Regions from separate parts of the Homo sapiens genome. Here regions 1, 2, 3, 4, 6 and 7 are each linked to region 5. The links are contacts of gene promoters, found by promoter capture Hi-C in blood cells and fetal thymus (Javierre and others, 2016). All regions are on one chromosome and are shown on one strand. Each heading gives the region's core, a stretch centred on a gene start or on the middle of the fragment in contact. The rest is flanking DNA. Distances are from core to core; before and after follow the strand shown. Region 1 holds the start of CT55 (cancer/testis antigen 55). Region 2 has its middle 6.0 kb from the start of RTL8A. Region 3 has its middle 16 kb from the start of MMGT1. Region 4 has its middle 8.9 kb from the start of SMIM10L2B. Region 5 holds the start of INTS6L (integrator complex subunit 6 like). Region 6 has its middle 8.3 kb from the start of SMIM10L2B. Region 7 has its middle 4.5 kb from the start of SLC9A6.

Region 1 (3,616 bases), core at 337-2,836, 350 kb before region 5:
CCTCAAATGCAAACACCTACTACAAGTAAGTCTTACACTCACCATCTGCATAACCCTGGGCAGAGAAGTTTTATAACGTCTCTGACCTTGTTTTCATCTGTCAATCCACAACAATCACAATTTCGCCTAATAGGGTTGTTGTAGGTTTTTAAAATATTTTTAAAAATTTATTAAAATTTAAAAATTTTAATTTTTAATTATTTTTTAATTTTTTGAGCAGAGTCTGGCTCTGTCGCCGGGGCTGGAGTGCAGTGGCGCAATCTGGGCTAGCGGCAACCTCTGCCTCCTGGGTTCAGGTGGTTCTCATGTCTCAGCCTCCCCAGTAGCTGGGACTACAGGTGTGTACCGTCACACCCAGCTAATTTTTGAATTGTTAATAGAGACGGGGTTTTGCCATGTTGCCCAGGCTGGTCTCCAGCTCCTGGCCTCAAGTGATCCACCTACCTGGAACTCCCAAAGAGCTGGGATTACAGGTGTGAGCCACCGCGCCCAGCTTACGAATATTAACTGACACATGCACATCAACTGTCGAGAGCTCTGAGTGCCTTGCACAAGAGTGTGTAAATGTTACCTGTTAGCATTTCTACATATGAGTCTTTAAGCTTCTGCTCCTATTATATTCCTTCATCATTATCACCAACATGATGAGTAGCACCTTCTATAGATACTTAACCATCTCAGCAGACAAAGTACTAAAAGATATCTGGAGATTGAAGGCTAGCCCAAAACGGCATCTGAATGGTTTTCTTTATTTCTCCTTCTTCTTCTTCTTCTTTTTTTTTTATTCTGCACAAGCCTAGCTGATCAGCAATACTTAGGGATCAAACCTCAGCAGTCGCCGGCAGGGGTTCTCTGCCTTCCTTTGGGATCAGATAAGTATGAGGCATCAACTTGGCTTCAAATTACATTCCCGTTTGGGATACAAGCCTAAATTAACTCGCAAATTAGGGAGTTTCTCGCCTACTGGAAATATAAATAGGCATGTGCTGTGCGACCACGTGGGGGAAAAGCACAGGCGGTACAGACCCCAAGGTCTTCTCTGTCAACACCTTCCCGCTTTAGATGGACAGGAGAGTTTGGGGGTTGGTTCTCAGGGAATTGTTGAGGACTCGGGTTGCCTCGGGTTGCCTCCCCATGCACGCACAAGATGGAGCCACCGTCACGTGCAGTACCCACCCGAGTTACAACAGCCTCATTCCGGGGGTGAGGAGAACCCCTATTGGGAGGCTTCTGGGGTGGGGGACAAGGGGACACACAGAGGAATACCTTGTGGGAGGCCCTGCTGCTGTGGGCCCTGTCGCTCTGCAGGGTCGGCCGTCCTCCCGTAGAAGGCCAAAGCAAGTCTCAGAAGCCTGAGCATCGTCCCAGTTGTCACCACCGGCCTGGGCACCGCTTGTGGCAGATGAAGCACGAGGCCTCCTCAGTAAGGGAAGCCCTCAGGTCACGGCGTCTCCTCAGGGACTCACTTCCTGCTTCTCCTCAGACACTGTGGCATGGGACCCACCCGTTAGTGAGCCCCCCTCAGGAGAGTCAGGGACACCGCAGCCTCCAAAGGAGCTCCCAGCTTCTCCGCTGACTTCTCCCTCTGAGCATGCGCTCGTCAGGGCCCGCCTCTACCACTGTCCAACCAATGGGCGTGCAGTGGGTGGGCGGGCAGGTTCTTGTGGCTACTAAAAGGCGATGGGTGGGAACATCGTGGCTTCTCCCATCAAGGCTGAGGGAGCCATTAGGATGGCCTGGGGAAAATGGCTTGGGAGCTTGGGTTCTGCATTTACTAAGGAGATACAGGGCTCTTCTCTTGGGTTCCCTGGGAGGATGGGTGCCTGAAACACCGGCTGTGCAACCAAAAATCCTGCTCCTGCCCTTGTATTCGTGGTGCTTAGCATAAGGAGTCACCACTCAGTGGGCGGTCAATAGTTACTCCTCACCAGGGATCAATTTTGTGGAGAGAGGGCATCATGTGGGTAGGCAATGTTTTAGTGATGGCAAGTACGTGTCTTGTGTACTAGGACTGCCATTTTTAGTCCAGTGATAATTTATAATAGAATCCTTTTATGATCATTGCTACCATGTACTCATCGCTTACCTGGTTATGCTTACATTACTCTGATATACACATTACCCTTATTCATTCATTCAGCAAAACTTGTAGGGCACTAACTGTGAACCAGACACTGTTCTGTGTTCCTAAAATTTGTTAATGAATGAAAGAGTCAAGAATCTTCACCCTGTGAGGGTAGATTTTTCACAGGATGACGAAAGGGTGACACTAAACATCACATAATAAAATATATGGTATGTTAGAAGGCAATAAATGCCATGGAAAAATATAGCAGGACAAGGGAGATCCACAGTGCTGGGCATGGGGTATTGGATTGCACTTTACAATAGCATGGTCAGAGTAGCCCTCATTGGAAAGCAATAGTTGAGAAAGATGTTGGAGTTAGCCAGGCAGCTATTTTTGGAGGAGCCGTTCAGACGGAGGGCACAGTTTGTGCAAAGACCATACAGCAAGACTGTGCGTGATGTATTCAAAGAAAAGCAGTGATTAGAGCAGAGGCAGTGAATAGCTAGAAGAGTGGGAAGTATGGTAAGAGAGATAATAGAGGTTCAGGCTGCATGTGGGATAGTGGGGCACTGGAAGTCCTTTGGCTTTTATTGTCCATGACACGTAAAGTCCCTGAAGGATTTGGAGCCTCCAGGGATCACTCCAGGTGCTTGGTTGTGAACAGGCTGGAAGAGGTCAGAGCAGGAAGCAAGGAGAACAGTTTGGATGATTCTGATGCAATCCATGGGCACTGTGGATGAAACCTGTTTGTCTTTCCTCTCCTACTGTGAGAACAGGTAAGAGCATTGCTGAAGATTATCATCTGGTTAACAGGATCGGTTGAGGGCTATCTATGTCTCAAAATGTAACACAACTGTGTTAATTTCCTAGGGAGGCCACAACACATTACTACGACTGCGTGGCTTTAAACAACAGAAATTTATTCTTCTGCAGTTCTGCAGGCTATGAGTCTGAAATCAAGGTTTCCGTGAGGTTGGTTCTTTCTGGCAAGCTCTGAGGGAGAGTTTATTCCAAGATTCCGTAGGTTGCCAGTAGTCATCGGTTGGCTTCCTTCGGTTGTAGATGCATCACTCCAATCTCTTCCTCCTTCATATCATGGTGCTCTTCTCCATCTGTCTGTGTGTCCAATACACCTCTTCTTATAAGGACACCACTCACTGGATTAAGGGTATATGACTAATCCCAATCCTGTAGGACCTCATCTTAACTTGATTTTTTTTTTTTTTTTTTTGCAAAGACCCTATTCAAAATAAAGTCACATTCACAGGTACTGGAGCTCAGAACCTGAGCATATCTCTTTCAGGGCAAAATTCAACCCACAGCAACTGCTCTTGTAAATTTTGATTACTCCAATATTCTATGATTATCAATGAAAAATTAGGACACACAGGTAAGCACACATTTCCTCTTATTTCTCTGAGAAAACACAGGCCATGAAACAGGAGCCCCTCTGTGAAACTCCTGGCACCCATCCTGGCTTTCTCTTCCTTCTCTTTTGTAACAATGGAAGGACATCGCAGCCCCTGGCCAGGGCTGAAACTCCACTGA
Region 2 (3,606 bases), core at 535-3,034, 470 kb before region 5:
TTGCTAGGACTTCCTATATTCTTGATGTTCATATCTTCCAGGAAAAGACCACTAGGGACATCTTGTCATTGAACAAATATTGAGTTTATTATTCATTGCAGTGAAGGAGAACATACCATAGAGAACTGTTGGGAATCTCAGCAAAAAGGTGTTAGAAAATGTTTGAAGTGTTTGGGCGTATATTAGGTGATTTTTGAGAAGTTTAAGGAAGTGAAGCTTTGCTCTGGCTTGGATGCTGTCAGGAAGCAGGGCTAATTGTATGCTGAGTGTCTTAATAAACATTTTATCTGGGAGGGCAGACATTATTAGTGTTTTTTTGTGTCCTGTTTAATACATCTCTGCCAAACTTAATATCATAGTCTCCTATACTTTCCTCTAATATCGTATTTTAGCTTTCAAATTTAAGTCTATGATCCATACTGAATTAATTTTTATGTATGCTGAGAGGTAGGGACCAATGTTCATTTTTCAATATAGGTATCTAATTGATCCAATAGCACTTATTGCAAAGACTATTCTTTCCCCCCAGTGAATTGCAATGGTGCCTTTGTTATAAATTAGGTCACCATATATGTGTGAATTTCTTTCTGGACTGTTTATTGTATTGCATTTTTCTGTCTATCCTTGTACCAATACCATACACCTTAATTTATGTTCCTTTATAGTAAGTCTTAATATCTGATAATGTAAGCCATCTAACTTTGTACTTCTTGAATATTACCTTGGCTATTCTAGATCCTTTGCCTTTCCATATAAATTTTAGAGTCACTTACCAATGTCTTTTGTGTAAGAAATCTTTGTCTAACCCAATATCATGAAGATACACTCTACTCTTATGTTTTCTTCTAAAATCTGCTTGATTTTTATTGGGATTGCATTGAATCTAAAAATAAATTTAGGGAAAATATATACTGTAACAATTTTGAATTTTCCAATTCATTAACATCTTATATCCTTCCATTTATTTAGTTGTTTAATTCATCTTAATAATGTTTTGTAGTTACTAGTGTTGAGGTATTGCAGCTATTTTATAGATTTATTTCTAGATATTTGATACTTTATAACACAACCATAAATGGTATTATTTTGTTAAATTTTATTTCTACTTTGTTGTTATTAAATAGAAATACAATTAATTTTTTATAACAGCTTTATTGAGATATGATTCACTTACTATAATATTACCCTTTAAAAATATACAAGTCAGTGGTTTTTAGTATACTTGCAGAGTTGTCCAACCATTACCATTATCTAATTTTAGAACATTTCTATCACCCCAAGAAAATACCCTATGCCTCCCTATTTTCTCCTTCCCCAAGCCCCAGGCAACCTCTAAATGATTTTCCACATCTATATATTTGTGTATTCTGGAAGTTTCATTTAAATGGAATCATACAATATGTGGTATTTTGTGACTGGTTTCTTTTATTTAGCATTATGTTTTCAAGGTACATCCAAGTTGTAGCATGTATGTAGCATTCATTCCTTTTTAAGGTTGAATTCCATTGAACGGATATACTATATTTTATCTATTCATCAGTTTCTGGAGTTTTGGGTTGTTTCTCATTTTTTGTTATTATGAATAATGCTGCTATGAACATTCATGTACAAGTTTTTGTGAGGTCATATATTTTCAGTTCTCTTGGATATATACCTAGGAATAGAATTACTGTATGGCAACTCTCTGCTTAACAATATTAATAATTACATATTATCACCAACTCCTACTGATGACACTTATGTTGCTTCAAATTTTGGCTACTGCAAACAGGGCTGCTGCTTATGATCTATAGGTTGCTCACTTCAGAAGTGCCTCTTACCAAATGAGTGACTGAGGCTACAATCTAGCCCCTACCCAGTCCACCATGTGAACCAGTGGGGCTGCATACACACTTAATAAGGTTTGCTTTTTTTGAAGCACAAAATTACTAACAGTTTAACAAACTCAGCATTCATGGGGCTGCTTTCCCCAAGAGGAGGTACCTTTTATTAATTTAGATAAAGGTACTATGCAGCTTAGCAGAGGTACTAATCATACATACATTTTTAAAAAATGCTATTGTCAACATCCTTGTTGGAATTGCTTGGTTGTAGGATATGTTTGTCTTAAACTGTACAAGGTGCTGCCACATTCATCTCCAATTTTGTTGTACTATTCTACACTGTTATAAGCGGTATATAAGAACTCTCATTTCTCCATAACCCCTCAACACTTAATATGGTCATTTTTACTTTTTTTTTTTTTGAGATGGAGTCTTGCTTTGTCACCCAGGCTGGAGTGCAGTGGCATGATCTCGGGTCACTGCAACCTCCGCCTCCCGGGCTCAAGCGATTCTCCTGTCTCAGCCTCCCGAGTAGCTGGGATTACAGTCACACACCACCACACCTGGCTAATTTTTGTATTTTTAGTAGAGACGGGATTTCACCGTGTTGGTCAGGCTGGTCATGAACTCCTGACCTCAGGTGATCCATTCGCCTTGGCCTCCCAAAGTGCTAGGATTACAGGCATGAACCACCATGCCCGGTCTAATTTGGCAATGTAATGCTTTTGAAATGATACTGTTTTTGTTCTATTTAAAATCTCTCTGATTACTATTGCAATTATCCATCTTTTCAAATGTTTCTCACTTGGAATTGATTGTTCACATATCTCTTGGATACCTTCCATTTGCTCTTCCAGATTCACTTTCCACTCTCCTCTATCCTGGAACAGGGTCAGCTCTGTTCCTAGAGGCTGACCTTTATGGACTGCATAAACCATTCCCTTGCTCTCTGGCTTCTGGTTGAGTTTGTCCAATGGTAGAGCTCCATCTCTACCAGATTAAGAGGTGGCTGTGGCTGAGTTCCTCTATCAAAGGCCACAGGTCCTTTCCAGGGATTCTCTTCTATAGCTAGAGCTCTCTGTGTTCCAGTAACCCCTCCCTGCCCTTACCCTTTCATGCCTTGGTGGGAGGCAACAGCTCATTACTGTTGCTAGCCTCAGGATAATTCAAAATCCATTGTTGGTTTCAGTATTAGTCAGCTATTGCTACAATAATGCTGTATAAGAAATCTCCGCCAAATTAATTAACAATCATTTGCTCTCTTTGCTCATGTGCTATGGGCCATCTGGGGCTATTCTTCTCCAGGATGCAGTTCATGTGGGCTTGGCTCTGGGATTCAGATTGTGTTTAGATCTGTTCCATGTGAATCACTGTATGGCCCAAGCTGAGGGATCAGCAACAACCGGGGGCATGCTCTTCTCATGGCAATCATAGGAGGGCAAGAAAACAAGCAAAACCACTCAAGCATATTTAAATCCTCTCTTCATGTCATGTCTGCTCATGTTCCATTGAAAATAACAAATGATGGCCAAGCTTAGAGCCAGGGGAGCAGGGAAGTACACCCACCATAGGGGTGTGGGGAAGTGAGGAGTGAATATTTGTGGAACAGTTATCCAATCTATCATAATTTATCTGAAACCTACCCACACATCTGTATATAGTCTCTTCTTTTAATTCTCCTCAATCATCCCATTTGTGTATACCTTCTGTTTCTTTTTGGGACCCTGATGGATACTATATACCCCTCACAAATTTCTATAGATTTTTCAGTTTTCAATGCCAT
Region 3 (3,481 bases), core at 164-2,663, 440 kb after region 5:
GACAATACCAATTGCTGGCAAAGACATGGAGCAACAGGAACTCTTATCCATTGCTGATAGGAATGCAAAATGGTCCATTGCTGATAGGAATGCAAAATGGTACAGCCACTTTGGATGGCAGTTTGGCAATTTTTTTATTTTTTATTTATTTTATTTTTTGAGACAGGGTCTCACTCTACCATCCAGGCTGGAGTGCAGTGGTGCGAACACGGGTCACTGCAGCCTGGAACTCCCAGGCTCAAGCAATCCTCCCACTTCAGTCTCCTGAGTAGCTGGGACTACAGACATGCACCACCATGATTGGCTAATTTTTTTGTATTTTGTGTAGAGACAGGGTTTCACCATATTGCCCAGGTGGTCTCGAACTTCTGGGCTCAAGTGATCGCCCGTCTTGGCCTTTCAAGGTACTGGGATTATAGGCATGAGCCACCGCATTCAGCTTGGCAATTTCTTATAAAGCTGAACATAATCTCATCATATGACCCAGCAATTCTGCTCCTCGGTATTTACACCCAACCACTTTGAAAAATCATGTCCACACAAAAACCTGCATGTGAGTGTTTATGGAAGATTTATTCATAACCAGCAAAGACTGGCAGCAACCAAGATGTCCTTCAATAGGTGAATGGATAAACAAAGTGTGGGAACATCCATACAATAAAACTATTATTCAGAGATAAGAAGAAATGAATTATCAAACTTCTGAGAGAAATGGAGGAATCCTGAATGCATATTGCTAAGTGAAAGAAGCCAGTCTAAAAAGACTACATACTGCATGATTCCAACCACATGACATTCTTGAAAAGGCAAAACTATAGAGACACTGAAAAGATCGGTGGTTAACACAGGCTCAGCAGAAGGGGAGGGAAGGATAAATATGTGAAGCACAGGGATTCTTATGGCTGTGAAACTATTCTATGTGATAATACAATTGTGGATACCTAACATTATGAATCCATCATAACCCACTGAACTTCCAGAAACAAAAAGTGAACCTTAATGTACACACATTTTTAAAAACCATTTGGGAGGTCAGGAGAATACCAAAATCGAAGGTAGAATGTTACAAAACAATCTAAGTTTATCACAAATTTATGAAACAATCTCACCAAAGGAGGTGAGGGAAAAGGTCCTGACCTAAGTAACTTTCAAAATGAGTAGCCTGTGAAACTAATGGCAACAAATGAACAACCAACAAAGCTACATAATCACTGTGCTCTAGCTGATAAAGTTGTTTCTTGTGGGGGAAAGGGTTAACAATTCTGAAGCCAGTTTATATGTATACTGGAATTAAACAGTTGAAGCAAGAAGAGAGCCGATGGTGGGAGTCGGGTTTCTCAGTTGCAGTGGAGGTTTACAGATAAGCAAAGGGAAGAGGTTAGAATGATCTATGTGGTAATGGATTGAACATCAGTATGAACTCATGTTTCATTTAATGGAAATACAGATGTTACATATTTACACTTAGGCATAAATGCACAGGTTAGTATGCACATATATATTTCCTTGATCTGTCTGCTGAAAAGGCCTAGAGGCAATGAAACGTCAAGCAGCAATGAGCGAACCTAGTGGCCAGATCTTGGTTTGTAATACCATTCTTCAATGAAAGGAACCATGCTCCTTGGAGAAATGGCTGATTCCAGGACTGAGGAAGGAAATATACAACACAAGCCCGGAACATCTTTGTAGTGCCAGGAAGGAAGTACTCAAATAAAAAAAAAAAAATAGAAAACTCACAATGACAACGATGGGAATATGTCAAAGGGACACAGGAGTTTACTGAAAAAGCTACCAATGTCTGAAACTGGAACAATTTCAACAAGATATAGTATTAAAGGATAAAGCAAGGTATGAGTCCAAACTCATAAAAATAAATGAATAAATGGGGGAGAAGAAGCATATCTCCCATGCAGAAGAATTCCAAATAAGTTATGTAGATACTCTGTCCTCAAGGAGGTGGAGCATAACATGTCACTCCTTATGTGTGGGCTGTGCAGAGTGACTTCCTTCCAAAAAGTACAGTATGGAAAGGGGAAAAAACAGTACTTTACAGTGGGGAAACCTGACAAACACTACCTCAGCCAGGTGATCAAGATTAACATCAGCAGTATAAATGTGTCCTTGATATGATGTGATAAGAATAGCACTTTACCTTAGTGGTCTTCCTCCAAAAACACACACAACTCCAGTTTAATAACCGAAAAATCATCTAACAAATCCCAGTAGAGGAAGATTCTACAAAATACCTGACCAGCACTCCTGAAAACTGTCAAGATCATCAAAAACAAGGGAAGTCTAAGAAACTGTCACAGCCAAGAGGAGCCAAGACATGATGACTAAACGTAATGTGGTCCTCTTGATAGAATCCTAGAACACAAAAAGGATACTAGGTAAAACCAAAGGGGCTGGACGCGGTGGCTCACGCCTATAATCCCAGCCCTTTGAGAGGCCGAGGCGGGCGGATCACGAGGTCAGGAGATCGAGAACATCCTGGCTAACACCGTGAAACCTCGTCTCTACTAAAAATACAAAAAATTAGCCGGGCATGGTGGTGGGCACCTGTAGTCCCAGCTACTCGGGAGGCTGAGGCAGGAGGATGGCATGAACCCGGGAGGCAGAGCTTGCAGTGAGCCGAGATCGCGCCACTGCACTCCAGCCTGGGTGACAGAGAGAGACTCTGTCTCAAAAAAAAAAAAGGAAATCTGAATAAAGTATGGACTTTAGTTAATAATAATGTATTAGGCCAGGCACGTTGGCTCACGCCTGTAATCCCAGCACTTTGGGAAGCCGAGACAGGTGGATCACCTGAGGTCAGGAGTTTGAGACCAACCTGACCAACATAGAGAAACCCCGTCTCTACTAAAAATACAAAATTAACCAGGCGTGGTGGTGCATGCCTGTACTCCCAGCTACTCGGGTGGCTGAGGCAGGAGAATCGCTTGAACCTGGGAGGCAGAGGTTGCAGTGGGCCGAGATCACGCCATTGCATTCCAGTAATACCAATACTACTACTACTAATAATAATGTATTGACATTGGCTCATTGTGTCAAATGCCTCATGCTAACATGTTAATAGAGGAAATTGAGTATGGAGTATGTGGGAACTCTCTATACTATCTTCCCATTTTCTCCATAAATCTAAAACAGTTCTAAGAAAATAAAGTTTGTCTAGAGAAAATACCAGCTTAAAAAAGAGGTAGACAGACTTGAAAAGAGACTACAGAGACACACTAATAATGTAATTTGTGAACCTTGGTGGGGACAGCTATAAAAGCTATTTAGGGGATACATGGGGAAATATGAATATGAAACTTTGGGTGGTTGATCCATTTTTTTACCTGTGATAATGGAATTGTGGTTAAATGGGAGAATCTCCTCCCTCTTGCAGGAAAGGCATGCTGACATATTAAGTGATGTCCTGAAGTGTGATGATGAAGTTTGCAACTTAGCTCGAATGAATCAGGAGGGGAGGAAAAGCACA
Region 4 (3,398 bases), core at 300-2,799, 410 kb before region 5:
AATCAGCATTATTATTTATTTATTTTTAAATTTCAACTTTTATTTTATTTTATTTTCTGAGACAGGCTCTTGTGCTGTCACCCAAGCTGGAGTTCAGTCATGCGATCTTGGCTCACTGCAACCTCTGCCTCCCAGGCTCAAGCAATCCTGCCTCAGCCTCTTGAGCAGCTGGGACTACAGGCCATGCCACCATGCCCCGCTAATTAAAATTTTTTTGTGTAGAGATGGGGGTCTCACTATGTTGCCCAGGCTGGTCTCAAACTCCTAGGCTCAAGCAATCTTTCCACCTGAACCTCCCAAAGTGCTGGAATTACAGGCATGAGTCACTGTGCCCAGTCTCAGCTTTTATTTTAGATACACAGGGGTACATTTGCAGGTTTGTTACATGGAAATATTGTGTGATGCTGAGGTTTTGGATATGAATCCTGTCACCCAGCTAGTGAGCATTGTATCCAACAGATCGGTTTTCAACTCACCCTTCTCCCTTCCTCCCTCCTCCCCCTTCTAGTAGTCCACAGTGTCTATTGTTTCCATATTTATATCCATGTGTGCTTAATGTTTAGTTCCCATTTTTGAGCTGGAACATGTGCTATTTGGTTTACTGTTCCTGTGTTCATTCGCTTAGGATTATGACCTCCAGCTCCATCCATGTTTCTGCAAAGTAGTAAGATTTCATTCTTTTTTATGGCTGCATAGTATTCCATGGTGTATTTGTGCCACATTTGTTTTATCCAATCTACCATTGATGGGCACCTGGGTTGATTCAGTATCTTTGCTATTGTGAATAGTGCAACCATGAACACATGAGTGCATGTGTTTTCTTGGTATAATGATTTATTTTCATTTGAGTATATACCAGTAATGGGATTGCTGGGTTGAATGGTAGCTGTTTTAAGTTTTTTGAGAAATCTGCAGACTACTTTCCACAGTGGCTGAATTTATTTACATTCCTATCAACAGGTATAAGCATTCTCTTTGCAGCCTCGCCAGCATCTGTCATTTTTTGACTTTTTAGTAATAGCCATTGTGACTGGTGTGAGATGGTATATCACTGTGGTTTTGATTTCCATTTCTCTGATGATTCGTGATATTGAGCATTTTATAATATTTGTTGGCCACCTGTATGTCTTCTTTTGAGAAGTGTCTGTGCATATCCTTTGCCCATTTTTAATGGAGTTATTTGTTTTTTCTTGTCAATTTAAGTTCACTATAGATTCTAGATATTAGGCCTTTCTTGGATGCATAGTTTGTGAATATGTTATCCCATTATGCATGTTATCTGTGTTTTTTTTTTCTCTATTGACAGTTTCTTTTGCTGTGTAGAAGCTCTTTAGTTTAATTAGGTCTTATTTGTCCGTTTTTGTTTTTGTTGCAATTGCTTTTGGGGACTTAGTCAAAAATTCTTTGCCAAGGCTGATGTTGAGAAGAGTATTTTTTAGGCTGTCTTCCAGGATTTTTAGAGTTTGAGGTCTTACATTTAACTCTTTAATTGATTTTGAGTGAAATTTTATATATAGTGAAAGGTAGGGTTCCAGCTTTAGTCTTCTACATATGACTAGCCAGCTATCCCAGTACCATTTATTGAATAGGGAGCCCTTTCCCTATTGCTGGTTTTTCTCGGCCTTGTCGAAGATCAGATGGTTGTAGATGTGTGGCCTTATTTCCAAATTTTCTATTCTGTTCCATTGCTGTATGTGTCTGTTTTTGTACCAGTACAAAAAGCTGTTTTGATTTCTGTGGGTATATAATATAATTTGAAGTTGGGTAGTATGATGCCTCCAGCTTTGTACTTTTTTCCTAGGATTGCATTGGCTATTCAGGCTCCTTTTTGGCTTCATGTGAATTTTGGAATAGTTTTTTTTTCTAATTCTGTGAAGAATGATGTTGGCAGTTTGATATGAATAGCATTGAACCTGTAAATTGCTTTGGGCAGTATGGCCATTTCTATATTAGTTCTTCCTACCCATTAGCATGGAATTTTTAAAAATTTATTTATGTCATCTCTGATTTCTTTCATCATTGTTTTGTAGTTGTCCTTGCAGAGATCTTTCACCTCCTTGGTTAGCTGTATTCTTAGGTATTTCATTTTCTTTGTAGCTATTGTAAGTGGGTTATGTTCTTGATTTCACTCTCAGCCTGGATATTGCAGGTGTGTAGAAATGCTCCTGAGTTTTGTACAATGATTTTGTATCCTGAAACATTACTAAAGTGATTTATCAGTTCTAGGATCCTTTTGGCACAGTCTTTAGGGGTTTCTAGGTACAGAATCATATAGTCAGTGAAGAGAGATAGTTTGACTTCTTCTTTTGCTATTTGGATGCCTTTTATTTCTTTTTCTTGCCTGATTGCTCTAGCTAAGACTTCCAGTACTATGTTGAAAAGGGGTGGTGGGAGTGGGCATCCTTGTCTTGTTCCAGTTACCAAGGAGAATGGTTTGAGCTTTTGCCCACTCAGTATGAACCTGGCTGTGGGTTTGCCATAGAACCTTATTATTCTGAAGTTTGTTCCTTCAATGCTTAGTATGTTGAAGGTTTTCATCATGAAGGGAAGCTGGATTTTATTGAAAACTTTTTGTACATCTATTGAGATGTTCATATGATTTTCCTTTTCATTCTGTTTATGTGGTGAACCTTGTTGATTGATTTGCATATGTTGAACCAGTCATGCATCTCAGGAATGAAGCCTACCTGATCATGGTGTATTAACTTTTTGATATGCTGCTAGATTTGGTTTGTTAATATTTTGTTGAGGATTATTGCATCTATGCTCATGAGGGATATTGGTCTGAAGTTTTCTTTTTTCATTGTGTCTCTGCCAGATTTTGGTATTAGGCTGATGTTGGCTTAATGGAATGAGTTAGAGAGGAACCCCTCCTCCTTGATTTTTTTTGGAATAGTTTCACTAGGATTGATATTAGTTATTCATTGCACATCTCATAGAATTTGGTTATGAATCCATCTGGTCCAGGGCTTCTTTTGGTTGGTAGATTCTTTATGACTGATTCAATTTCAGAAGTTGATATTGGTCTATTCAGGGTTTCAATCTCTTCGTGATTCATTCTTGGGAGATTGTGTGCTTCTAGGAATTTATCCATTTCCTGTAAATTTTTAGTTTGTATCCAGAGAGTTGTTCATAGTCATCTCTCAGGATCTTTTGTGTTTCTGTGAGATCAGTTGTAATATTGCCTTTGTCATTTCCGATTGTACTTATTTGGATCTTCTCTTTCTTTGTCTTTGTTAATATAGCTGGTGATCTATCAATCTTATTTCGTTTTTCAAATAACCAACTCTTGGTTTCATTGATCTTTTGTATGTATTTTTGCATTTCATTAAGTGCTTCTCTAACTTTAGTTATTTCTTGTCTTCTGCTAGCTTTGGGTTTTTTTTTTTCAAGTTCCT
Region 5 (3,581 bases), core at 26-2,525:
GAATTACAGGCATGAGCCACTGCGCCTGGCCAAAATATATAAAATATTATGTATGTATATGTCATCATCTCTCCTCAATGAAACTGCAAACTCATTGAAGTCCTGGATTCCACATTGTCAATAGTAATTGCCAGGAATACACAAGTCCAATTTTTAAAATTGTGTCATATGAAGTAGTCAATCAAGTGTGGTTGGCCACTTACTGAGTCTCTTCACAGAGCCAGACCTGAGAGTATCCGTAATTGTTACCCTAACCTCAGGGAGCTGCATTTTCCTCTACTGAAAATTGAATACAATGCCATCTGCCATAATTAATTCAAAGATTAAACAAGGCTACCGTGGGTGCCTGGCTCTTCATAGGCACTCAATAAATGTGAGTTGAGAGCCTGCCCCTGTGGTCCCAGCTACTTGAGAGGCTGAGATGGGAGGATCGCTTAAGCCCAGGAGCTGGACGCTGCAGGCAGCTATGATGGGGCCACTGCACTCCAGCCTGGGCGATCAAGCGAGATCCTCTTTATTTATTTATAAAAATAAATAAATAAATAAATATGTGAGTTGAATCACAATCTAGGTTTGCAAACCTCCATGTGTAAAGGCTGCGCAGAGGGAACAGTGGTGGAATTATCACAGGCAGGCCAATGTTTCAAAGAGCTTAGTGAAACTGAAGAAGCTTGTGCATACAAAAGGCCAGTTTAGGTAACTGTAACTGTGTTTAAGCTTTAGTTTCCTTTCTAAGTAGATATATGTGGAATGCAAGGCCAGCAACCAACTCACAAATACTGATCAAGACGGGGGAGGGATCTAAAGGAATGTGAGTACGTCCTGCCAGGAAAGAAGTTTGCTGCTTCTGAAATATTTTCGTCTTCGCCACTGGCAGGATTGATCGATTGCAGTTAGCGAAGAATTTTCTGTGCAAACTGTCCAAGCATCTGCTTCTGTACTTCTGTACAACTGTTGCTCAAATTCACTCTTCTTTTCGAATCACCATCTTTGAAGAGAGACAGAAAAATCCATTTAAACCACCCGAACTAATCATTCGAACTGCTTCCAAGTCCTTTAAAGGAGAATCCTAGCGAGGGTCCGTAACACTTCCCCTTACCCTCTGCCTGGGTTCAAACTTCAACTCCCAGGGTTCGCCCAAGTCCCTCCCCTAGTCCTGTCATCTAATGAATATGCAAATACCACATAATTGGCAGCCAATGGCATGGGTTCTGGTCACATGGTGCCGATGGTAGGTGAGCAGACAGAAGTTGTCAGTGAACAGAGACGGCGCTCAGTCTGGGGCGAGCGCTCTAGTGAGCGCGGACGGATGCTTAGGCAGTAGTCCTGGCAGCGGCAGTAGTGGTGGCAGCAGAAGAGAGGAAGGGGGAGGGCCCCGAGGGCTACACACGCTCACACTTTCAAGTTCCCTTGGAGGGAGAGGAGGTGGGGCTGCAGAAAGAGGAGGCCAGGAGCGGTCCCATCCGTCCCGTCCCGTCCCGTCTCCCCCTCTTCCTCTTGCTCCTTGCTCCCCGGCTCTGCGAGAGTTGAGGGTTCAGGTGGCCGTACGCGGCAGTGAGGGCAAGAGGGCCGGGAGAGTGGGGAGCGGAGGCAGGAGTGCGGGGGAAGATGCCCATCCTGCTGTTCCTCATAGACACGTCCGCCTCTATGAACCAGCGCACTGACCTGGGCACCTCTTATTTGGACATTGCCAAAGGCGCTGTGGAGTTATTCTTGAAGGTAAAGGGAGGGGAGGGGAGAGATGGGGAGAGCTCCCGAGGGATTTCAGGGTGTGGATTGAGGTGCTTCTGTAACGTTTGTATCGCCCTCCCCCCTCCTTTCCTACGCGACCCCCTCCGTCATCCCTTGCCCCGCAGCTGCGCGCCCGGGACCCGGCCAGCCGTGGAGACAGGTACATGCTGGTCACCTACGACGAACCCCCGTACTGCATCAAGGTAAAGGGGCTACGGGTGGGGGGACAGGCGGGAAGCGGGAGCAAGTCGGCGGGGGCTGCTTACCCCCCTGCCCCCGCCTAAGGCGGTCCTGCGTCGCCCGGCGGGGCGGGCGGCGAGGGGGTGCGCAGAGGGCGGGCGGAGTGGTGCCGTCGGCGGCTTCGGAGTAGCTGTCGCGCCTGGGGTCGGGGAGAGGGGACCGGGGAGGAGCAGCCCCGGGGAGAAACCGCAGGAGGGCCGAGCTCGTGGCGCGACAACCGCAGCCGCCTCGGAACATGGCGGACATTTTGCTTTTGTATGAGCCTGCGAGAGGGAGACTGAGGGCGCTGCTGAGATGGAAAGGAGGGAGGGGAGGGAGGAGCGGGGAAGGAGGGCCCGAAACCCGGAGGGAGGCTGCGAGGCGGGCCCGCCCCTTCGAGGCGCACCGCGCGAGGGTCGCCGCGCGGGGGGCCGGACGGAGCCTGCGACTCCGCCCCGAGGTCCTGCCGGCCGGGCGCGCGGGCTTTCCCGGAGCCTGGGCTCCTCCTCTGGCCCCTCCTTCCTCCCCCGGTCTTCCTCCCCCTCCTTGGGCTCTTCGCTGCATCTCCTCCTTCTCCCCCTCTTCCTCCTGGTCCCCTCCCCTTCCTGCTGAGAGCGTGGCAGAGCCAGCCGCCGGCCTTCAAAGACTAGACAACCGCCTTTGCACTCGTTGGCCTCTCACCACCCCCGCGCAATCGGAAATCTGTCCGCGACGCCAGTCTCCCCACCCCCAGACCCGGAGAAAGTCTTTGCGTTTCTGCTCCGGAATTGGCCAGGTTCAGCCCCGCTCTCAGTTACCTTAGCTACTGTTACTGTTTCATTGGAAATTCCAGCGAAGCAACGACACGGAGGGGGACGTGCCAAGTGCGAACCCACAGGGGCAGAGCTTTTTAGGGATCCGCTCTACCTATTTACATCATAAATTAGGTTTGTGCTAGCCACGTAGGAATTAATCCAGGGACAAGAAAGAAAGGAAGGGGAGGACTCAAATGTGAGCATTTGTAATAGTCAAGTTCGATGATTTGATTCTGACCTACAGGAGAAAAGTAGGGAGGACGGTCTCTGTGGGGTAATTTATGTTCCTATGGTGAGGAGATAAAGAACTGCTGCTTTGCCTGCAGTGGCCAGATAAAATGGAATTTAAACTGTTAAATCAACCTGCATAAGAGTCCTGCTTGCATATTGAAATTTTAAAAATACTACCACAATCCTTGACGTCTTTTGTTAGGCTTTTTCTTTTTTCCTCAGAATAATCGTAATAGTGCTAGGGAGACGCAGTCTGGATGTGTTGTGATCCGTTTCTGTAGAGTGAGGTGTTTTAATGAATGGAACCTACCAAGCTGAATAGTTGGCCAAAGAGTGTTCCTTCAAGCATAAGGAAACCAAAGAGAAACTAATTTTGTAACTCGTAGCTTCGGTTAACTGTTTAATTAGTAGGTTCCCCTTAAAACTGTTCTTTTTTCGATAATTTGTTTTCAGTTTGTGATTCTATCCATTTAGAAAAGTGGAACAAGTAGACATCTTTCAAAATGCCGTAAGCTTTTTAAAAATGTCAGTTTTCCCAAAAGGATGTGATCATTTTTTTCCACATAGAAAAGGAGATGTTTATACATCCTAGGTCTGAATGTCTAC
Region 6 (3,312 bases), core at 765-3,264, 430 kb before region 5:
TGGAACAGTTTGGAGGGCTCAGAAGAAGACATGAGAATGTGGGAAAGTTTGGAACTTCCCAGAGGCTTGTTGAATGGCTTTGACCAAAATGCTGATAGTGATAGGGACAATGAAATCCAGGCTGAGGTGGTCTTAGATGGAGATGAGGAACTTGTTGGGAACTGTAGTAAAGGTCACTCTTGCTATGACAAGAGATTGGCAGCATTGTGCCCCAGCCCTAGAGATCTGTGGAACTTTGAACTTCAGAGAGATGATTTAGGGTATTTGGTGGAAGAAATTTCTAGGTGGCAAAATGTTCAAGAGGAAGCAGAGCATAAAAATTTAGAAAATTTGCAGCCTGATGATGTGACAGAAAGGAAAACCCCATTTTCTGGGGAGAAATTCAAGCCTGCTGAAGAAATTTGCATAAGTAGCGAGGAGCTGAATGTTAATCACCAAGACAATGGGAAAAATGTCTCCGGGGCATGTGAGAGACCTTCATGGCAGCCCCTCCCATCATAGGCCTGGAGGCCTAGGAGGGATCAATGGTTTCCTGGGCCAGGCCCAGGGCCACCCTGCTCTGTGCAGCCTCAGGACATGGTGTCCTGTGTCCCAGGTGCTTCAGCTCCAGCTGTGGCTAAAAGAGGCCAAGGTACAGCTCAGGCCATTGGTTCAGAGGGTGCAAGCTCTAAGCCTTGGTGACTTCCATGTGGTGTTGAGACTGTGGGTGCACGGAAGTCATGAACTGAGGTTTGGGAACCTCTGCCTTGATTTCAGAGGATATATGGAAATGCCTGGATGTCCATTCAGAAGTTTCCTGCAGGGGCAGAGCCCTCATGGAGAACCTCTGCTAGGGCAGTACAGAAGGGAAATGTGGAGTTGGAGCCCCCACACAGAGTCACCACTGGGGCACTGCCTAGTGGACCTGTGAGAAGCGGGCCACCATTCTCCAGACTGCAGACCCCAGAATGGCAGATCCACCAACAGCTTGCACCGTGTGCCTGGAAAAGCCACAGATGCTCAATGCCAGCCTGTGAAAGCAGCTGGGAGGGGGGCTGTACCCTGCAAAGCCACAAGGGCAGAGCTGCCCAAGGCCGTGGACATCAGCATGACCTGGATATGAGACATGGAGTCAAAGGAGATAATTTTGGAACTTTAAGGCATAATGACTGGCCTATTGGATTTCGGACTTGCATGGGGCCTGTAGCCCCTTTGTTTTGGCCGATTTCTCCCATTTAGAATGTATGTATTTACCCAATGCCTGTACCCACATCATATCTAGGAAGTAACTAACTTGCTTTCAATTTTACAGGCTCTTATGTAGAAGGGAACTGCCTTGTCTCAGACTTTGGATTTGGACTTTTGGGTTAATGCTGGAATGAGCTAAGCCTTTAGGGGACTGTTGGAGAGGCATAGTTGTGTTTTGACATGTGAGGACATGAGATTTGGGAGGGGCCAGGGGTGGAATGATATGGTTTGGCTGTGTCCCCACCCAAATCTCATCTTGGATTATAGTTCCCACAATCCCCACATGTGGTGGAGGGGACCCGGTGGGAGGTAATTGAATCATGGGCTTGGTTACCCCATGTTGTTCTCATGATAATGAGTGAGTTCTCATGAAATCTGATGGTTTTATAAGGGGTTTTTCCCCCTTTGCTCGGCACTTCTCTCTCTTGCCACCTTGTGAAGAAGGATGTGTTTGCTTCCCCTTCCACAATGATTGTAAGCTTCTTGAGGCCTCCCCAGCCATGCAGAACTGTGAGTCAAGTAAACCCTTTTTCTTTATAATTACCCAGTCTTGGTTATTTCTTCATAGCAGTGTAGGAATAGACTAATACAGACTCAATGTCTGCTCTTCATCAATGTCATATTTAAATATTGTGGCAAGTGACTGAGCCGCCTCGGCTGGTTGCTGTTGCCTGGGGTCCTGCTTGTCACTTGATCCTCTTCCTGGGAGGAACTGGGAATGTGAGATGATGTGGGGTTGTGTCCAGAGGGTCAGGCATTCATGTGTTTGTGGCATCCATTAACTACAAGGCCAAGACATCCATGTCCAAGGAGAAGGCCCCAGGGTTAGAGCCAGGAGCCCAGACTAAAGGCAGTGTGGGCGAGCCTGCCAGCATGGGAGGGGAATGTTCTGCTTTTTCTCCAAAACAGGAGGCCAGGAGGAAGAGTCAAGGAGTCTGTGCTGTTCTCCACTGGTCAGGCAGTTGAGGAATATGGCCAGATCAGTCCTCAATGATCCCATCGTTCACTAGAGATTCCCACTCTCTGAGCCACCCTAATGGGGAAGGAGTTGAGGGCTAGGATTGCTTGGGAACTAATGGGATGGGGCTACTTTTGTAAGCTTTTTATACCACAGGGGCAGGACAAGGGCTGCAGGGGATTGAATGAAAGGCCAGGAGAGAAGTTCATCTATGGAAAAGGCCCAGTGGTGAGATAGTAAAATGTGTCAGCAAATTTTGTTTTCATTATTGAGTTGAAATCCACATAACATAAAATCAACCATTTTGAAATGTATAATTCAGTGGCATTTAGTACATTCACAATGTTGTGTAACCATCACCACTGTTAGTTCCAAAACATTTTCATCTCCCTAAAAGGAGACCCTGTACTCATTAAGCAGTCACTCTCCATCCTTCCCTCCCCTAGACCATGGCAACCACTAATCTGCTTTCTGTCTGTATGAATTTACATATTCTAGACATTTCATATAAATGGAATCATAAAATTTGTAATCTTTCGTGTCTGATTTCTTTCACTTAGCATAATATTTTCAAAGTTCATCCACCTTGTAATATGTATCAAATCCTTCATTGTGGGATTATTTTGGGGCTGAATAATATTCCAGTGTATAAATATACCAAGTTTTGTTTATTCATTCATCAGTTGATAGACTGATAGACATTTGGGTTGTTTCCACCTTCTAGCTATTGTAAATAGTGCTGCTATGAAAATTCATGTTTGAGTACCAGCTTTCAGTCATTTGAGTATGTACCTAGGAGTGGAAATGCTGGGCTATAGGATAATTCTAGGTTTAACTATTTGAGGAACCACCTGTTTTCCACAGTGGCTGCTGTACCAGTTTACATGCCCATTAGTAATGAACAAGGGTTCCAATTTCTCCACATCCTCACCAACACGTGTTATTTTAATTTTTTTAAAAAAAGTTGAGCTGTGCGTGGTGACTCACACCTGTAATTCCAGCACTTTAGGAGGCTGAGGAGGGTTGATCACTTGAGGCCAGGAGTTCAAGACCAGCCTGGCCAACATGGTGAAATCCCGCCTCTACAAAAAACACAAAAACTAGCCAGGTGTGGTTGTGCACGTCTG
Region 7 (3,379 bases), core at 210-2,709, 460 kb after region 5:
GCATCCTTATCCTGGGTACTAGCTGTGACCTATTCTTTGTTCCACATGAATATAGGCATTTTCTATACTGCTGCCTTAAGTCCAAGTCTCTTTATACCTTCTCTTCTTTGGCGCTCCCACAGCGTCAATATTATGCATATAGCTCAAAAATCCATCACTGGTCCAGTCTTTACTCCTGAACTGCAGAGCCAAGTTCCTAAGTGCCTATGTTGACATCCGTTCTTGGATATCCTACCAGTCCCTTAAATCCAACCTGTCCATAGTTGAGCTCTACTTTCTGACTCCCACATTAATGCTACTGACAGCCCTCTGTTTTTCAGTTATCCAGGTTCAAACCTTTGGAGTCATCTCTCAGTTCTTCTTCCTCAGGCACTCCCACTCACCCACCCAATCAATTCCAAGACAGGTTAATCCTACCTCTGCATTGGCTCTTTGCATCTAACTTTCCATATGCATTCCTACTGCACCTGCTAAGTTAAGGCCTCACTACTCTTCAGCAAGATGACCTTTATAACCTCCTAACTGGCCTCCCTAGTACTTACCTTTCCACATTTCTTTTCTTTTCTTGAAATGGAGTCTTGCTCTGTTGCTCAGGCTGGAGTGCAGTGGCACGATCTCAGCTCACTGCAGCCTCCACCTCCCAGGTCCAAGCGATTCTCCCACCTCAGCCTCCCGAGTAGCTGGAATTACAGGCGCACACCACCACGCCCAGCTAATTTTTGTATTTTTAGTAGATATAGGGTTTCACCATGTTGCCCAGGCTGGTCTTGAACTCCTGACCTCAAGTGATCTGCCCACCTCAGCCTCCCAAAATGCTGGGATTACAGGCGTGAGCCACTGCACTCGGCCTCCACATTTCATTCACCCCCTTTTCTGTTGCCAAATTAATATTGGGGAGGTTTTTGACCAGGAAAATGAATGAGTTAAAATTTTCTGTGGCATAGAGGACTTCCACAATATGACTTCAACCTAGTTTTTCAGCCTGTCCCCCAATACATGATTTTTTTTTTTTTTTAAGACGGAGTCTCACTCTGTTGCTCAGGCTGCAGTGCAGTGGTGCAATCTCGGCTCACTGCAACTTCGGCCTCCCAGGTTCAAGTGATTCTCCTGCCTCAGCCTCCTACCAATACATGAATTATTTAATTCAGTGTTTATCAGGCACCTCCAACGAATCAATGACTGTGTTGACTAAACTTATCTATGCTGTTCAGTCATCTAGTATTACACTGAGTGAAGCTCTCTTTTCAGCTTATCCTTGAATTGAATCTCTCTACCTGGAGAAATTTAATGTTATCTGCAGATATGAAGATTTCTTTGACACTTCATTAAATTTAAGAGATATTTATTTATTATTTTTAGAGTCGTGGTCTCACTCTGTTGTCTAGGCTGGAGTGCAGTGGCATGATCATAGGTCACTGTAACCTCGAACTTCTGGGCTCAAGCAATCCTCCCACCTCAGCCTCCCAAGTAGGTGGGACCACAGGTGCACACCTCCATACCTGGCTAATTTTTTAAATTTTTGTAGAGATGAGTTCTCACTATGTTGCCCAGGCTGGTCACAAACTCCTGGCCTTAAGCAATGCTCCTGCCTCAGCCTTCTAAAGTGCTAGGATTATACGTGTGAGCCACCATGCTTGGCCTAAGAGACATTTATTGATGCACAGATATGTTTTATTAAGTTCCTGTTTTGGTTAGGCCTTATGCTAGATGCTGTCAGTAAGGAAATAAATGCCTAGTTCCTGCCTTCAAGATGCTCATGACCTGTTGAATGACAAACTTGTCAATCAAACATGACAGTACATCATGGGAGCTACTAGGATAGAGATCTTCCCAGGGGGCCATAGAGCCCTTTCTGAAGAGGGGCCCTGTATTAGTCTGTTCTCACACTGCTATAACGAACTACCTGAAGACTGGGTAATTTATGAAGAAAAGAGGTTTAATTGACTCACAGTTCTGCAGGCTGTACAGGAAGCATGACTTGGGGAGGAGGATCTCAGGAAACTTGCGATCATGGTGGAAGGCAAAGAGGAAGCAAGGAGTGTCTTCTTATGGCAGCAGGAAACAAAAAGCGAGGGGGAAACGCCACACACTTTTAAACCCTCAGATATCCTGAGAACGCACTCACTATCACAAGAACAGCATGGGGGAAACTGTCCCCATGATCCAATCACCTCCCACCAGGTCCCTCCCCCAACAGGTGGGGATGACAATTTGACATGAGATTTGGATGGGGAGACAGAGCCAAACCATATCAGGCTCCTAACTCAGCCTGAGGGCATCCTGGAAAATTTGGTGATCTTTAATCTGAGTTTCGTCAGACAAGTAGAAGTTAGTTAGGTGAGGAAAAAGTTGAGGACTATCCAAGTAGAAGGAACACATGGAAAGGCACATAGACGGCAGGAAACCACATGAAGCATTCAAGGAACTAGAAGTTCAGAATGGCTGAAGCAAAATATATTTGGGAAATAAGCACAGGATATAAGGGTGAAGAGACAGTCTGGAGGCAGGGTGTGTGGAGCATTGGGTGCCAGGCTAAGGAGCCAGAGCCAAAAGCAAGGCAGGGGGCATTAGAGGATTTGTGTTCCAGAAACACCCCCTTATGAAAGTGTAGAGGAATGATTGGCAGAGACTAAAGAAGAGGTCAGCATATCTTTCTGGCAAAGGGCCAGATAGTATATATGTAAACTTTGCAATCCACAGTCTCTTTTGCAACTGCTCAACTCTGCCCTTGTAGTGCTAAAGCAGCCATAGACAATAAGTAAAGGAATGGACATGGCCATGTCCAATAAACCATTATTGATGGACACAGAAATTTGAATTTCATATCACTTTCACATGTCACAAAATATTCTTTAATTCTTTTTTTCTCAGCCCTTAAAACGTGAAAAACATTCTTAGTTTCAAGACATACAAAAACAGATAGCAGGCTGGATTTGGCCCTCAGACTGTAGTCTGATTTTTGATAATCCCTGGACTATCCCTGCACTCCCTGGATGGGAGTGCAGAGAATGCAGACAATTCCTTTGAGAAGCTTATCTATGAAGAGGAAAGGAGAGATAGTACAGTAGCTGGAGGGGTGTGGATGAAAAGGTGTTTCTCAGAGGAGACCTGAAAATGTTCATGGAGAGCAGAAAGAGATGATAGAGAAGGAGCCACTGAAGATGGTGGAGGTGGAGGGCGGGGGTTGGGGGGGGCGGTGATTGTTGGAGTAGATCCTGGAAGAAGAGGAAAGGAAGTGATGACATGCAGAGTACAGTTTGGTCAATTCGCTTTTTTTTTTTTTTTGAGACAAAGTCTCACTCTGTCACCCAGTCTGGCCCAATATCAGCTCACTGCAACCTCCATCTCCTGGACTCAAGCCCTTTTCCTTCCTCAGCCT

The links. Contacts are between HindIII fragments. The CHiCAGO score rates a contact against its expected background, and 5 or more counts as called.
Region 1: a contact is called between the fragment with the promoter of CT55 here and the fragment with the promoter of INTS6L in region 5, in 10 of 17 cell types (endothelial precursors, M2 macrophages, activated CD4 T cells and 7 more). The highest score is 8.8, in endothelial precursors.
Region 2: a contact is called between a fragment that was not itself captured here and the fragment with the promoter of INTS6L in region 5, in 1 of 17 cell types (total B cells). The highest score is 6.3, in total B cells.
Region 3: a contact is called between a fragment that was not itself captured here and the fragment with the promoter of INTS6L in region 5, in 1 of 17 cell types (total B cells). The highest score is 5.9, in total B cells.
Region 4: a fragment that was not itself captured here is called in contact with the fragment with the promoter of INTS6L in region 5 in 2 of 17 cell types (naive CD4 T cells and activated CD4 T cells); the score reaches 5.7 in naive CD4 T cells.
Region 6: a fragment that was not itself captured here is called in contact with the fragment with the promoter of INTS6L in region 5 in 2 of 17 cell types (total B cells and neutrophils); the score reaches 5.8 in total B cells.
Region 7: a contact is called between a fragment that was not itself captured here and the fragment with the promoter of INTS6L in region 5, in 9 of 17 cell types (neutrophils, naive CD8 T cells, naive B cells and 6 more). The highest score is 12.1, in neutrophils.

What each region holds. Positions count from the first base shown.
Region 1 is chrX:135,169,812-135,173,427 of GRCh38, forward strand. CT55 (cancer/testis antigen 55) reads right to left here and starts at 1,587. Exons shown (of 6, transcript NM_001031705.3): 1 at 1,267-1,587. The coding sequence starts at 1,360. The HindIII fragment of the contact is 3,215 bases long and covers 601-3,616 here.
Region 2 is chrX:135,044,374-135,047,979 of GRCh38, forward strand. No RefSeq gene overlaps it. Among named protein-coding and RNA genes, the nearest start is that of RTL8A, 6.0 kb to the right of the region's middle. The HindIII fragment of the contact is 3,140 bases long and covers 215-3,354 here.
Region 3 is chrX:135,956,592-135,960,072 of GRCh38, forward strand. No RefSeq gene overlaps it. Among named protein-coding and RNA genes, the nearest start is that of MMGT1, 16 kb to the right of the region's middle. The HindIII fragment of the contact is 4,472 bases long and covers 1-3,481 here.
Region 4 is chrX:135,105,915-135,109,312 of GRCh38, forward strand. No RefSeq gene overlaps it. Among named protein-coding and RNA genes, the nearest start is that of SMIM10L2B, 8.9 kb to the left of the region's middle. The HindIII fragment of the contact is 6,245 bases long and covers 1-3,398 here.
Region 5 is chrX:135,519,385-135,522,965 of GRCh38, forward strand. INTS6L (integrator complex subunit 6 like) reads left to right here and starts at 1,276. Exons shown (of 18, transcript NM_001351601.3): 1 at 1,276-1,719; 2 at 1,857-1,934. The coding sequence starts at 1,609. INTS6L-AS1 (INTS6L antisense RNA 1) reads right to left here and starts at 1,290. Exons shown (of 2, transcript NR_046740.1): 1 at 1,183-1,290; 2 at 699-988. RefSeq lists enhancers at 1,430-1,509, 1,540-1,599 and silencers at 1,850-2,119, 2,180-2,379. The HindIII fragment of the contact is 2,771 bases long and covers 716-3,486 here.
Region 6 is chrX:135,088,784-135,092,095 of GRCh38, forward strand. No RefSeq gene overlaps it. Among named protein-coding and RNA genes, the nearest start is that of SMIM10L2B, 8.3 kb to the right of the region's middle. The HindIII fragment of the contact is 620 bases long and covers 1,705-2,324 here.
Region 7 is chrX:135,979,217-135,982,595 of GRCh38, forward strand. It overlaps a transcript of SLC9A6 not described here. Among named protein-coding and RNA genes, the nearest start is that of SLC9A6, 4.5 kb to the right of the region's middle. The HindIII fragment of the contact is 3,139 bases long and covers 1-3,029 here.